3 separate regions of the Homo sapiens genome follow, and all the other regions are linked to region 3. The links are contacts of gene promoters, found by promoter capture Hi-C in blood cells and fetal thymus (Javierre and others, 2016). All regions are on one chromosome and are shown on one strand. The core of a region is centred on a gene start or on the middle of the fragment in contact, and the rest is flanking DNA. Distances in the headings are between cores, read along the strand shown.

The links. The method cuts DNA at HindIII sites, captures the fragments that hold promoters and counts their contacts. A CHiCAGO score of 5 or more calls a contact.
Region 1: a fragment that was not itself captured here is called in contact with the fragment with the promoter of FRZB in region 3 in 1 of 17 cell types (M0 macrophages); the score reaches 6.9 in M0 macrophages.
Region 2: a fragment that was not itself captured here is called in contact with the fragment with the promoter of FRZB in region 3 in 1 of 17 cell types (M1 macrophages); the score reaches 5.1 in M1 macrophages.

The regions. Positions count from the first base shown.
Region 1 is chr2:182,180,538-182,185,511 of GRCh38, reverse strand. The region is part of intron 13 of PDE1A (phosphodiesterase 1A); the gene reads left to right. Among named protein-coding and RNA genes, the nearest start is that of PPP1R1C, 200 kb to the right of the region's middle. The HindIII fragment of the contact is 820 bases long and covers 1,949-2,768 here.
Region 2 is chr2:182,227,929-182,232,759 of GRCh38, reverse strand. It overlaps PDE1A (phosphodiesterase 1A), which reads left to right. Exons shown (of 15, transcript NM_001363871.4): 5 at 1,629-1,745; 6 at 2,614-2,754. Among named protein-coding and RNA genes, the nearest start is that of PDE1A, 200 kb to the left of the region's middle. The HindIII fragment of the contact is 251 bases long and covers 2,650-2,900 here.
Region 3 is chr2:182,865,089-182,869,370 of GRCh38, reverse strand. It overlaps FRZB (frizzled related protein), which reads left to right and starts at 2,734. Exons shown (of 6, transcript NM_001463.4): 1 at 2,734-3,296. The coding sequence starts at 2,819. RefSeq lists an enhancer at 2,603-3,571. The HindIII fragment of the contact is 6,424 bases long and covers 1-4,282 here.

The DNA.
Region 1 (4,974 bases), core at 1,109-3,608, 680 kb after region 3:
TTCATGTCAGAGACTTGGGTGTGTTTTTTTTCTGTTTCACTAAGTTGCTTTTTTGACTCAGAATTTAGACAGGAATTGGGGAAATCATTAGTAATCAACCACCACAGCAATCGCATGGGAAGGTAGCTACAGTTATTTCTGACATATTAGCTGCTTCAAATTAATTAGTCCATTTAGTAGGTTTGTGAGTTAGTATTCAAACAGTTATTATCTTTCGTGCAGGAATTAGCTTTCATATCCAGATCTGGCCCCTGCCTCTTCTCACACTCATTCCCACAGCTCTGTCTCCCTTATACACTACACTCCCTGCACAATGGCCTCTTGGAAGTTTCTTAAAATACTCCAGGGTCTTTGTAGTTATTTTTTCAGCCAGAAATTTTTTCCTTGTGTTTTTTGCAGCTTTAATATACTCAGGAATAAACTTACTTTTCTTAAAATGGATAATATAAGATCAAAATAGAGTGTTAAATCATATTTATAGTCAGAAAGACACAATATTGAAACGTTTTCAATTATCCCAAATGTCAACCATAAATATAACATGTTTCCAGTGAAAATTCCAATACATTTTTCATGGAATTTAAGAAATTGATCCTAAAATCTATATGGTATTGCAAATACCTAAGAATACTCAAGACACTCCTGAAGGATAATAAAGTGGGAGCACTTGCCATATATCAAAATTTACTCTTATACTGAAGTAATAAATTTAGTGTGGCTGTGATATAGAGATAATAAGATGGGCCTTGGGAATAGACCAGAGAGCCAAAAATAGCACATTAATTCCTGCAGAACTTGACAGATGGCAGACACACACATTCGTATATGCAATCTTTTGTATGTTCTCACATATTTACCCTTATGATATTCTTCATTTCTTCTTGTGTGTCAGAGCTACTATTTGGTATCATTTCTCTTCACACTGGAGTACTTTCTCAAGTATTTTCTTATAACACAGTTATACTGACAAACAATTAGATTTTCTTTATCTGGGAATGTCTGTATCTTACTTTTATTTATGAATAATTTTACTTGATTTAGAATTGTTGAATGATTTTTTTTTATTTTAGCACTTTTAATGTGTAATTCTATTGCCTCTGGCTTCCATAGTTTCTGATAGTGTTGGCCAAAAATAAATTGTATTGTTGCTTCCTTGTATGTACTGAGTATTATCTTTTTCTTTCTGTTTTCTAGACTTTATTTTGACTTTCAGCAATTTGATGATGATATATCTAGGTCTTTTTTTTTTTCAGTATTCTACTTAGTGTTCACTAGCTTCTTAAATCCACAAATTAATAATTTGCTTCAAATTTAGAAAGCTTTCTGTCATTTTGTTCAATATTTTTCTTCTGCCTCTTTCTCTCTGTTCTCTCCTTCTGAGGATTGTGTTATGCATAACTTAGGATTCTGGAAATTGTCCTGGATGCTCTGGATCTCTGTCAATTTCTTTAATTGTTCTTTCTTTCTTTCTTTCTTTCTTTCTTTCTTTCTTTCTTTCTTTCTTCTCTTCCTTTCCTTCCTTCTTTTGTTCCTTCCTTCCTTCTTCATTCATTTTTGATTGGCTGCTTTCTAATGATTTATCTTCAAGTTTACTGTTTCTTTCTCTGCCACCTCAATCCTGCTGTTGATTTCACTGAATTAACTTTTTATCTCAGCTACTTTTTTCAATTTTATTATTTCCATTTGGTTCTTTTTTATAATGTCTATTTCTCTGTTGATATTTTATATTTTCATTCATTGTTAGCATATTTTCCTTTAATTCTTCAAGATTATTTTCTTTAATTTTAAAAACATATTTAAAAAACTTGTCTTGAATTTTTTGAAATCAATTTTAAAACTGACTATAAATGGCCTTTCTATGGCTCTCTAATTTCTAGGGTTTTTCTGTTAAATCCTGCTGGTTTACCCTTTACCCCAACTTGGACCCCAACCCTAGGCTGACAAAGCTTGGGGCTCTCCTCATCTAGTCTAAGTGGATTCACCATTTTATATTCAAGTAACCAGAATTATTTGCTGCCTTCCCATTCCAAGTTGATTCTACCACATCCAACAGGAAAGTTGGCTTTTGCTTCCATTCCCAGGTCAGAGTTGGAGAGGAAGATGGAGGAGTGGGAGTAACTTCAGGCAAGAAGGTCACAGGTTCCTGCTGTTTTTACCTGAATGTCCAACAATTTTTTAAGAATAAATGTTTCTCAAATTATTATGTCCCTTTGGTTGATTTCCAGAGTCATTGAATAGTTGTTTTTATTAATGCTGTCCAGTTTTACACTTGCTTTTTCATGAAGAGAAAAAACTCGACTTCTTTACATCACTATAGCAGGAAGTATTCCTCTTCACCATAGGTTTTAAGAGAATTAAATGAGTTTATTAATATAATTTGCTTAGAAGTGTCTAGAGTACTAAGCGCTATATGAGTTAGCTGTTATTACTATATTATTTATGTTTCTGCCATGTGTTCTAGAAATAAGGGTTATAGGGCTACTATATAGAAACTAGGGGTGTCCCTAATGCTGAATTCTAAATCCAGCAAAACTATTCAGAAATAAAGAAAAATAAAGACATTACCAGATTAAGAAAATCTAATTACTATGGAAATTGGGGATAATTTCTATATAGTAAACTGGTAAGGAAAGCCTTCACTGAGGAAGAAATAATTTAAATAAATACACAATGGAGGTTAGAAAGAGAATGATGGAGAGGTCTGGGAGGGTGGGTGTTAACAAATTTTTAAAACGGATTGGCTACCACATTATCTAGGAGGCCAAGCTTGCCTGACATGCCAGAAACAACAAGAAGGGCAGTGAAGCAGGAAGAAATTGGACAAGTGGGAATAATGTAGGCAATGTGATGAGTGGGGAATGTGGTGCCTGACCTTTGGTTTTGGCCCGAGAAAGACAGGAAACCAAATGTAGAGTTTTGAGAAAAAATGTTGATTGATCTGAACTGAGGTTTCAAAAGGATTACTCTGCTACAGAATGGAAAATGTGCTTTTGTTTGGGTAGTAAAAATAGAAACAAGGAGATCAGAAGGAAGGCTGTTGTTCATAACCCAGGAGACACATGGGAGCTTAGACCAAGTAGTAATGGTTGAGAGGGTCTATAATTTCTGGATATGTAAAGATTGTGGCAGTATGTGTGAGTAGAAGGAGGGTAAGCAAAAAGAGATTGGATTCTGGATATACAGATATTTTGAAAGCTGAACTGATAGGATTTGTTACCAGATTAGATGTAGGAAACAAAGTGAAGAGAAGAATCAAAAATGATGCCAGGCTTTTTGGTTTTCTTACACATTATTTGTATATAGGTAAAATTATATAATCATTTCATGGAACAATTTGGCATTCTGTAGGAAATTTAAAGATGCATGTGCCATACTTCTCGACAATTTTGCTTCTGTATTTTTACCCCAGAGAGACTTTTGTGCATATGCATCAAAGACATGTCTAAAATATTCACAGCAGCATTGTTCATGACTGCAAAATAAAGTGTAAAAAACAGTAAAATTGATTTATATACTGTAGTATGTACATATTATGGAACAGTATAAAACTGTTAAAATTTAACTAATCACCACAGGAATGAAGGACACAGTGTTGCACAAAATAAGCAAACTGCTGGGCTTTAGTAGGCGGTTTTCCCCTGACAGTGTGAAGGAGACTGAGAGGTTTGGACTAAGCAAAATTCACCACAACACAGCAAAGCGGCTGTGTCCAGACTGCTTCTCTAGATTCCTCCTCACTGGGCAGGGCATCTCTGCAGGAAATCCAGCAGCTCCAGTCAGGGGCTTACAGACAGGACTCTCAACTCCCTGGGACAGAGCACCTGAAGGGAGAGGCAGCTGCAGTCGCAGGGTCAGCGGATTTAATCTTTCCTGTCTGCTGGCTCTGAAGAGAGCAGCTGACCCTAACAAGGGGGACTCTCCCAGCAGAGTGCACCAGTTCTGCTAAGGGACAGACTGCCTCCTCAAGCAGGTTCCTGACTTTGCGCCTCTTGACTGGGAGAGACCTCCCAACAGGGATCAATAGACACCTCATACAGGAGAGCTGAAGCTTCCAGAGGAAGGAGCAGACAGCAATCTTTGATGTTCTGCAAACTCCATTGGTGAAACCTAGGTGACAGGGTCTGGAGTGGACCCCCATCAAACTGCAGCAGACCTGCAGAAGATGGGTCTAACTGTTAGAAGAAAAAGTAACAAACAGAAAGCAACAACAACAAAAGCATCAACAAAAAAGACCTCCTACAAAACCTCATCCAAAGGTCATCAGCTTCAAAGATCAAAGGTAGATAAATCCATGAAGATGAGGAAGAAACAGTGCAAAAACGCTGAAAATTCCAAAAGCCAGAATGCCTCTTCTCCTCCAAATGATTGTAACACTTCTCCAGCAAGGACACAGGACTGGACAGAGAATGAGATAGATTAATTGACAGAAGTAGGCTTCAGAAGGTGGGTAATAACAAACTCTGCTGAGCTAAAGGAGCATGTTCTAACCCAATGCAAAGAAGCTAAGAACATTGATAAAAGGTTACAGGAGCTGCTAACTAGAATAACCAGTTTAGAGAGGAACATAAATGACCTGATGGAGATGAAAAACACAGCACAAGAACTTCATGAAGCATACACAAGTATCAATAGCTGAATAAATCAAGCAGAAGAAAGGATATCAGAATTTGAAGACCATCTTGCTGAAATAAGGCATGCAGACAAGATTAGAGAAAAAATAATGAAAAGGAATGAACAAAACCTCCGAGAAATGTGGGACTATGTGAAGATACTGAAGCTACGATTGATTGGAGTACCTGAAAGAGACTGGGAGAATGGAATCAAGTTGGAAAACACACTTCAGGATATTATCCAGGAGAACTTCCCCAACCTAGCAAGACAGGCCAACATTCAAATTCAGGAAATACATAGAACACCACTAAGATACTCCATGAGAAGATCAACGCCAGGACACGTAATTTTCAGATTCTCCAA
Region 2 (4,831 bases), core at 1,526-4,025, 640 kb after region 3:
TTTGGAGTTTGATAAAAGATTTATTGACCTCCTTTGAGATTTACTGATGTAAAATGCCTTCTAACAGAACTTATAATAACTTTTAATATATAAAGAGATAAAGCAAGCATTTGGGGATCAAATAAGGGCCAAATGCAAGGAATTTAATAACGACATACAAGCAAACCAAAAACTGTTTCATTGGTGCTTGTTTCCAAGTGATTAAAAATACCATTTGAAGCTCTTACTATTATTTTTTGAAGGAAGTATTTTTAAAAGAGACTGAATACTTTTTATCAGATTTTTAGTTTGGTTCTAGCATATTATAGCACATAGAGTTGGCCTCCAGAAAAATGTGTTGAATGAAATTTGAAACGTGCCTACTCAAATAGAAAATTAACGCATAGCTTTATGGTTGCCCACTTACTGTTCAATACTAAACCTACTGTATGTGTATAAACAGTAGGCCTTCCTGCTAGCAGTTTCTGATAACCATTAGAATGGACTACAGTGCTTCTATAGATTTTCAAAGCAAAATCATGAGGTGGCTGGAGTGGTTTATATCCCTGCTCACTCTCCTCTCTCTCTGTTAGGGGGTACTTTCCAGTTTCCCTACTGGCCTGCTTGCTTCCCTAGGGAACTGCATGAAATGCGAGTATTACTATCCTCCTCCTCAATCAAAAGGCCCACTTCCTTTTCCTCACCACTTGTCCCTCAAGCAAAGTATTAGTAAATCAGCCAAAGATAGAGCAAATAATAATAGTTGAAAAGTAGTGTAAAAAATACCTTTTAATAATTAAAGATAGTGTATACTCTATCTCGCTATGATATTTACATATTTTTCTATCTTTCTTTCTTTCTTTTTGGAGATGGAGTCTCACTCTGTCACCCAGGCTGGAGTGCAGTAGTGCGATCTTGGCTCACTGCAACCTCTGCCTCCTGGGTTCAAGCGATTCTCCTGCCTCAGCCTCCTGATTAGCTGGGATTACAGGCGTGCACCACCACACCTGGCTAATTTTTGTATTTTTTTGTAGAGATGGGGTTTCACTATGTTGGTCAGGCTGGCCTCGAACTCCTGACCTCGTGATTGGCCCATTTCAGCCTCCCAAAGTGCTGGGATTACAGGCATGAGCCACCACACCAGGCCGATATTTACATCTTAAAACAGGACATAAATATCAAAACTTTAGCCAAACTGCAAACTCTTATGGTGAAATTTCAAGCAATGTAGCAAGTGAGTAAGAAAGAAAAACCGGGACTATTTTTTCTGTATTTCCCAATTGACATCATCTATGTAACTAGCAATTCTACCCTAAATTGAGGTCCACTCTGAGAAAATGATTTATGGCAGGAAGTTGGAGAGAGATTAAAGATAATGGCAGTATTATGGTATTATCAAATGTATTAAATCACTTTAGTAACTTTGGGATTAAAGAAAAGGTTTTGATGCTTTATAAAGCATTATGGCCTCAATTTTGTGGACCCATGGATACTAAGTGGTCCTGTCCTATGAAACTCTGGTCAAAGTGTAGTTTGACATGCTAAATTGAAAGATGACCTGCTAAATGTACAATGCCTTATCTTTTGAATAAATTCTCGTAGAAACAGTATGATATTGGCACCTAAAGTATTTATTCTTTTTTCTACAGGATGTTGATAAATGGTCTTTCGATGTATTTGCCCTAAATGAAGCAAGTGGAGAGCATAGTCTGAAGTTTATGATTTATGAACTGTTTACCAGATATGATCTTATCAACCGTTTCAAGGTCAGAAACATGGAACAAAAGTGAAATGCTCTTAGAATTGGTTATTTGAGTAAGAATGAAAATGCAGAACATTTGAGTAATTAAGCAATTCATTTTAGGATGTTTTAGTTAGCAGGTCACAGAATTAAGGTGATGAGGTCTTTATATGATAGAACCATTCTCCACAAGTCACTGACACATCTATATATCCACCTAGAGATCATGAGGCCACTATAGCCTCATTCCAGCAAGATGCCAATATCCCCTGACTTATTCACAAAACACTCACATAGGGTTTGGCAGCTATGTCTTAAAGAAATATGACTACTCCAGCATTCCTAAAATACAGAATGAACCTTTATTGCCAGCTTTTCTTAAATTAGAATGAAGGGGTTTCTAATTAACTTCATTTAGAACCATCCAAGCAATAGATTTGATACAGACTACTGAGCAGATTGTAGCTTATTACTTTCATCATTTCCTGTAGAATCATCACATTTTTAGAGCTATAAAGTACTGAGAGATAATCTATTTTAACCTCTTTGTATTAAGATAGAAAAACTAGACTCCACTAATTGTAACTGGAAATATTTACCCTTCTACGAATTAGCCTTCCTACTCTCCGGAAGATACTAAAATTTCAAGCCTATAGTACAAGTAAGGCTATTATTTAATCTGTCCTAGTCAAATACTTGGGGGTTACAATCTTTCTTTTTGGGAATGAAAGTTAACATGTTCATGAAGTGGTTTTTCAGAACAATCAACATTTGACATAAAGAAACTACTGTCCACATCTGACTCACTAATATGTTCCATGACAAACAGTGCTCAGGTTGATTTAGTACCACTTTTTTGGTCAAAATATAATTATAATTATTACTTTCCACAGATTCCTGTTTCTTGCCTAATCACCTTTGCAGAAGCTTTAGAAGTTGGTTACAGCAAGTACAAAAATCCATATCACAATTTGATTCATGCAGCTGATGTCACTCAAACTGTGCATTACATAATGCTTCATACAGGTATCATGGTAAGACAGTCTTTGTAACTGAGGTTTGTTAGTTTGGAAGCATTCCAAACTTCCATTCCTATAAGTTTCTATTGTCTCTTTAATGCCCATAGAGGTATTCTAAGTAATAAGTATTATAAAGAATAATTGTTTGGATTTTTGAAGCTTAATGTGTTATAATACACATTTTTCAAAAAATACTTTAAGTCAGTGCAAAAAAGATAACCAGAGGCAAAAAAAAAAAAAGTTTCCCAAAATTTGGACTACCAAACATTTTTGTTTGTAAATTCCTTTATTCTGCAGGAGTCAACCAAAAAAAGTGACCTAGAGAAAAAGTCTTTAGAAAGAAAGTTATAGCACTCTTTTTCTCATTCCTTATGTGCTCCTAACCTGACCTTAGTCGCTTTTGCTCTCTTACTCATATTACTAATCACAGTCAAATTCTAATAGGGATTTGGGGAAATTATTAATGTCAATTTTTGCAAAATTTCCTTCCTCTTCTTTGCATTTGATGAATCAGTGAATGGGTGACTAAACGATTCAGTGATGCAAAGCCTGAAATAACAGTGAGTGTATGACAGGAACTCTGAGAGAGTTGGGAATTTTTGTAATGTCTTAGAACTCAGGATGATTCCCAGAAGGTAAAAAGTGAGGAACTGACCTTCCTGTGAAGGTGCAAAACTGAGCTGGGTTCAAAAAAGGAGCAGGCCATGTGAGATTTCTAAATCCTAGCACCTGCTTTAATCGTGAAGTGCAGTGAGAAAATGCCATTTCAGCCTAGGAGGCAACCAGAATTTCATCATTTAAAAAAAAATTCCTGCTTGAATGCATTTTTTTTACACTTGCTACAAGTGTAAAGGGAGCCAAATAAAAGTCTACTATATCAGCTTCACCTGGTGTGAAGGTGACATTGAAGAGATGTGGGTGTCATATTAATTGGTAAATAGAGAAAATCAAATCCACAATGTGGTTTTACCCTCAGAATTATAAGGAAGACTGTTATGGGACCAAATAAGCCGTTCCAACTTCTCTGTAAGACTAGGGAATTTGGCCCAGCCTCGCATGACTCCTAGAAAGTTAAAGTTGTTAGCAAAGATCACATAGTCACTTTCTGAGACAGCTATGACTTACCAAATATAAATGTAACTTTCTGATTTTATTCATCCTTTAGCAAAAATGTGTCACTGGCCTCTTTACTCATCCATTAATTTAACCATTACAAAAATAGTCTGGTGGTAGACCTTTAGTGTTTTCCAGAACCAAGAAAATACCTTTGAACTAAAGAGAATAATGAGAACTTTTACCATAGATGGAGAAAGGGAAGACAACATGAGTTTATGAATGTATTGACTATTTTGTCTAAACTAGGTTACACTGTCAGCTTGACAATTTTTGGAAAGTTATTTTAACAAGTTTTCTCTACATTAAAAAGTAGTGATAGGTGACTATTAAATTTCATGTATATGAATGTGTTGGTTCTTTGAAACAAAAAAGCTTTATAGAAATTTTCATTAGGAAAAAATCTTTAGTTCTTTCTCACCCCTCAGATTTGATATAAAGAAGACTGGGCCATCTACTTTAGTGTTTTAGTTGATGCCCTGCTATTTCAGGGTGGCCCTATCAGTGTGACATTTATGAAGCACTCTAGTAGCAGCCCAGTACTGTCAGGAGACTAATGCATGTTGTCATCTGCAAGATGTTTTAAGGACCATTCCTGAAAGGGATTGCAATTAAGCCATTGTCCTTCTGTTTGTTAATGTCATAAGGGACGCCCTCAAGTCTGGATGTAGACAATGCCGAGGAGAGTTGATGCTCATACACCTGCTTGTCCCCCTATCTCTCTCCTTTTGTCACTTGATACATTTGTAGTCCTGTGCCATGGTGACAGTGATGCACAGTAACTCAGTCCATTTGCTAAGGAGCAAATGTTTTATAAAGTGCTGTCAAGTCACCTTCAAATGTCTCTTTGAACATGGAATTATACAAGGGCCTTGGCCAGAAAACATTTGCATTAGAGGGCTCCTGGCACTGCGTTCTCTCTAATACTAAGAGTAGAAGGAGGAGAGATGACTGTAAATCTAGTTCCTTTGGAATTTTT
Region 3 (4,282 bases), core at 1,485-3,984:
TAAATGAGAGCAAAGCTATGGGTACAAGAAGGCATATCTTTGAGAGGTATAACAGACTTTGGAGACTCACAAGTGGGGAGCTTGTGAGTCTACTAGGGAGGCTGAGGCAGGAGAATCTCTTGAACCCGGGAGGTGGAGGTTGCAGTGAGCCAAGATAGTGCCACTGCACTCCAGCCTGGGCAACAAGAGCAAAACTCCATCTCAAAATAAATAAATAAATAAATAAAGGAATAATTTGTAAAAACAAACACTGTTCAAGGGTAACTAACCAGAAAAATGAACACAACTAGACAAGGTACTCAAAAGGGCTTCCTCAAGACAGTGACATTTATTTTGGGCTTTTATAAAAACAAATTTGGATTAAAGTTGTAAGGGGACCTATTAGACAAAGAAGATAGCTGACTTTTGTGCAGGGGAAGGAAAACAGACTTTGTTTCAAATAGTTGTAGAACCTTTAAAACTATTGGCACATTTCTTCTCACACTGTAAGACTTAAGATGAACAGAAAAATGTATTTAGCAAACAATCTACTACATCTACTCCTGATGTTTTTTCTTCTAATTATTGAAAATCTCAGCTATATTTTTCTTATACAAAATAGTCCCAAAATGTTCTAATGTTGACTGTCTTTTAAAGTTGTTTTTCCTCTAAATTTTACTTGATAAATCATTTTAAATTCGTTTGTACAATTTTTGAATTTGTTCTCTTACATGACACTAGATAATTGTAGACCAGGCAAAGTTTGTATACTAACTGACTCCCTGTCTACCATCTGGTGTTCCCCGCCCCCGCCACCATAAGTGGAACAAACTTCCTTCCAAAAAAATTTACAGCAGTCACAAACTGCTGTTTATGATCATTTTAGATATAAAATTCCATAACTCAAGTTAGCATTGACATTTTATAAGTGCTGTCAAGTCACTCTAGGGAATGAAAATGAGCATCTCACTATGTGCTCTGAAGTGGGGACATATTTCTCTGCTTGTTATGGACGGTGAGAGATGGCTAAATTGAAGCAGAGAAATATTTCAGTGATGCAGAGCAAAGGTGACTTCCTGTTTTGTTTCAGGTTTTGTTTCCTTCTCCTCTCAATGAAGGCTGTGTTTTCTGACATTCGGCAATCCTTTTGCTCAGTGATTTCCCATTGAGAGGGCATAGTGTGAAGGCCTCTGCAGGTCATTCCATTTACAATATAAGCTGAAAGGGTAGAGTGGGGCGGGGGTGGGGGGAAGAGGGAGCTCATTAGTGGAAGAAGCAGACCAGGAGGGGATCTGTTTTCCATTTTCTCCTCCAGATTGAACTCATCTGGATGGAAAGGTTTTGATTGTTGTTATAATCATCATTATTACCTGCGTGATGTCGTTTTCCTACACTTTTTTTTTAAGTGTCGGGCAGAATTGTTGCTGAGAATAACAAATAATATCTGCCATGTTATCCGTGAGCAAAATCAGAAAAAAAAAGTCCAAGTGTATTAGAGCTGTTAGTTTCCACGTTAACCCTTAAGGAGCAAAGCTCAAGAGTTCTAATTCCACTAGGTGGGGGGGGCGGGAATAGAAGGAAAAAACCCCTTTTCCTTGCTTCTGGTGGCCTATTTGTAGTCATGAACAGCATTTCTTTGTTTCTCTCTCTCTTTTTTTTTTTTTTTAAAGGCAATCCTCCCCCCACCTCCTCCCCCGCAGTTATTGAAAATGGAGACCTCTGTAGTCACTAGCTCTGGGTTGATATGGCTCCACCGTTGCTCGCAGGGGTCTGTGTTTTCCGCTACTTGGACAAAGTGACATTGCTTAAGCCTTTCCCCCCACCAGGTCTGACTTTCTGCAGAGCCAGTGATTGCAGAGGAAAAGCTGTAGTTTGCTTAAAGGAAATACCTCCAGGAAGGAGGGTCTCGGGTGGGTTCCCAAGTGGGGAACTAGGGGGACTTTTCCGTAGGGAATTGGGGTGGGCTCTTCAGTGAGGGGCTAGGGGCTCGTTTCTGGGGCCAAAGACGGGTTCCCTAGTGTGAGGGCGCGCTCGACTCGGCGCTGTCTTGGGGTCTCGCACTCGCACGGCTTCGCACCCCACCGCCTGCGACTCCCAGGCCTTCTCTTCCCCGGGCGCCCACTCCATTCTCGGGAAGAGCAGCCGGCACTGGAGGGCAGAGACTGCCCCAGGGGCGGAGCTCCCTCTCAGGCGGGAGGTAGGAAAGTGCAGAGCCGCCCGGGCAGAGGCACAGACGTCCCTGCGGGGCTCCTCCTGAGCGTCCCTCCTGCCAGCCAGGGTCGCAGCCGCAGCGGCGGCCGCAGCTCTTAGCCCACACAGGACTTGTAAACTCTTACTGCACCCTTCTCTCCCATTAGGAGCTTTTCCTCCCTCCTTCCCCCCAACCCCTCTGTCCTCCTCACTTTGGGGAATTTAATGCTTTCTTTAGCATCTTTTTGTGTGCGTGATCTAGGGGAGGAGACACCCCAGAGCTCCAACTAGCTCTCAGCTGAATTCTACTTTTGTTTTTATGTCTTCCTCGCCTCCTCTCGTGTCCCTCTTATCTGACTGATCTGCGAAGTCTGATGCTTCTGCCAGAGGGAGAGGAATAAATAGATGTTGCTGCTTCCGAAGGCTTAGACGTTGGGAAAGAGCAGCCTGGGCGGCAGGGGCGGTGGCTGGAGCTCGGTAAAGCTCGTGGGACCCCATTGGGGGAATTTGATCCAAGGAAGCGGTGATTGCCGGGGGAGGAGAAGCTCCCAGATCCTTGTGTCCACTTGCAGCGGGGGAGGCGGAGACGGCGGAGCGGGCCTTTTGGCGTCCACTGCGCGGCTGCACCCTGCCCCATCCTGCCGGGATCATGGTCTGCGGCAGCCCGGGAGGGATGCTGCTGCTGCGGGCCGGGCTGCTTGCCCTGGCTGCTCTCTGCCTGCTCCGGGTGCCCGGGGCTCGGGCTGCAGCCTGTGAGCCCGTCCGCATCCCCCTGTGCAAGTCCCTGCCCTGGAACATGACTAAGATGCCCAACCACCTGCACCACAGCACTCAGGCCAACGCCATCCTGGCCATCGAGCAGTTCGAAGGTCTGCTGGGCACCCACTGCAGCCCCGATCTGCTCTTCTTCCTCTGTGCCATGTACGCGCCCATCTGCACCATTGACTTCCAGCACGAGCCCATCAAGCCCTGTAAGTCTGTGTGCGAGCGGGCCCGGCAGGGCTGTGAGCCCATACTCATCAAGTACCGCCACTCGTGGCCGGAGAACCTGGCCTGCGAGGAGCTGCCAGTGTACGACAGGGGCGTGTGCATCTCTCCCGAGGCCATCGTTACTGCGGACGGAGCTGGTGAGTTTTGACACGGCCCACCCTTCCCTTACCCTACAGCCTCCTCAATTCTTGGAGTCCTTGTTACTAGCCTTTACTCTCTAATTTTTTTCTCTTCGGATCACTTAATCTCTCCCATAACTGCTCCTCTATCAAAGACCCTTCTTCTTCTTTCTTCTTTTTTCAAAAACAAAAACAAAAAAACCCTCACCTTATCACCTTCCAAACTGATGCACTCTGGCACTGTGTTCCAATAGGCGATCTTTCTAAAACAATCCATGCATTCCAAACCCATCACACTTCTACTCCACAGGAATCCTTCACTTCAACTCCTTACATGTGCAAGTAGCCACATTTTGTAAAGTGATGCTCTTTTTCTTTTAAAATGTGTTTATAATCATTGGGTTTTCTTTGCTGATTCTCAGGCAATCTCAGTCATCAGGTTTCTGTATCTTTAGTGTCTTAGATGCTTGTTAAGATTGTGTGGAGGAAACAGAAAACTGAAGCCCCATTTTCTTCTAATTAAAAATGCCAAGATAATTTCAATAACCTTACTCTAACCGACAGATGTTAGGGGTATGTGTTTGCTCAAGATCCAGTTTGAGCAATTACCTTCACCTTAAATTTCCCCCTCCTTTCAATGAGATAAATTGTTCTTCCATTCCAGAATGAAACAATTGTGAAACATTGCTATGCACTGTTAATTAGCTTCTGTGGCTTGCCATAGAGCTGGCAGACTGAAATTACTGAGCTCTTTTCACATGCCCACATGCCTTCAAGTCATTTTATAAGTGGCATACAGATGAAAGGAGTTATATTTAAGGCGTGTTATCATACACTCACGTAATGTTATTTTAAATCTCACCCCTTATTCCACTCTCATGTTTTGAAAAAAAAATTGTCTTTAATACCTTATTTCATGCTCCTTTTCCGTGTGTGCACCAACCACAGTCATTTCAGTCTTTCCCTACCATAAAACTTTATTGCAGCTCTAAATTTAATGGAGT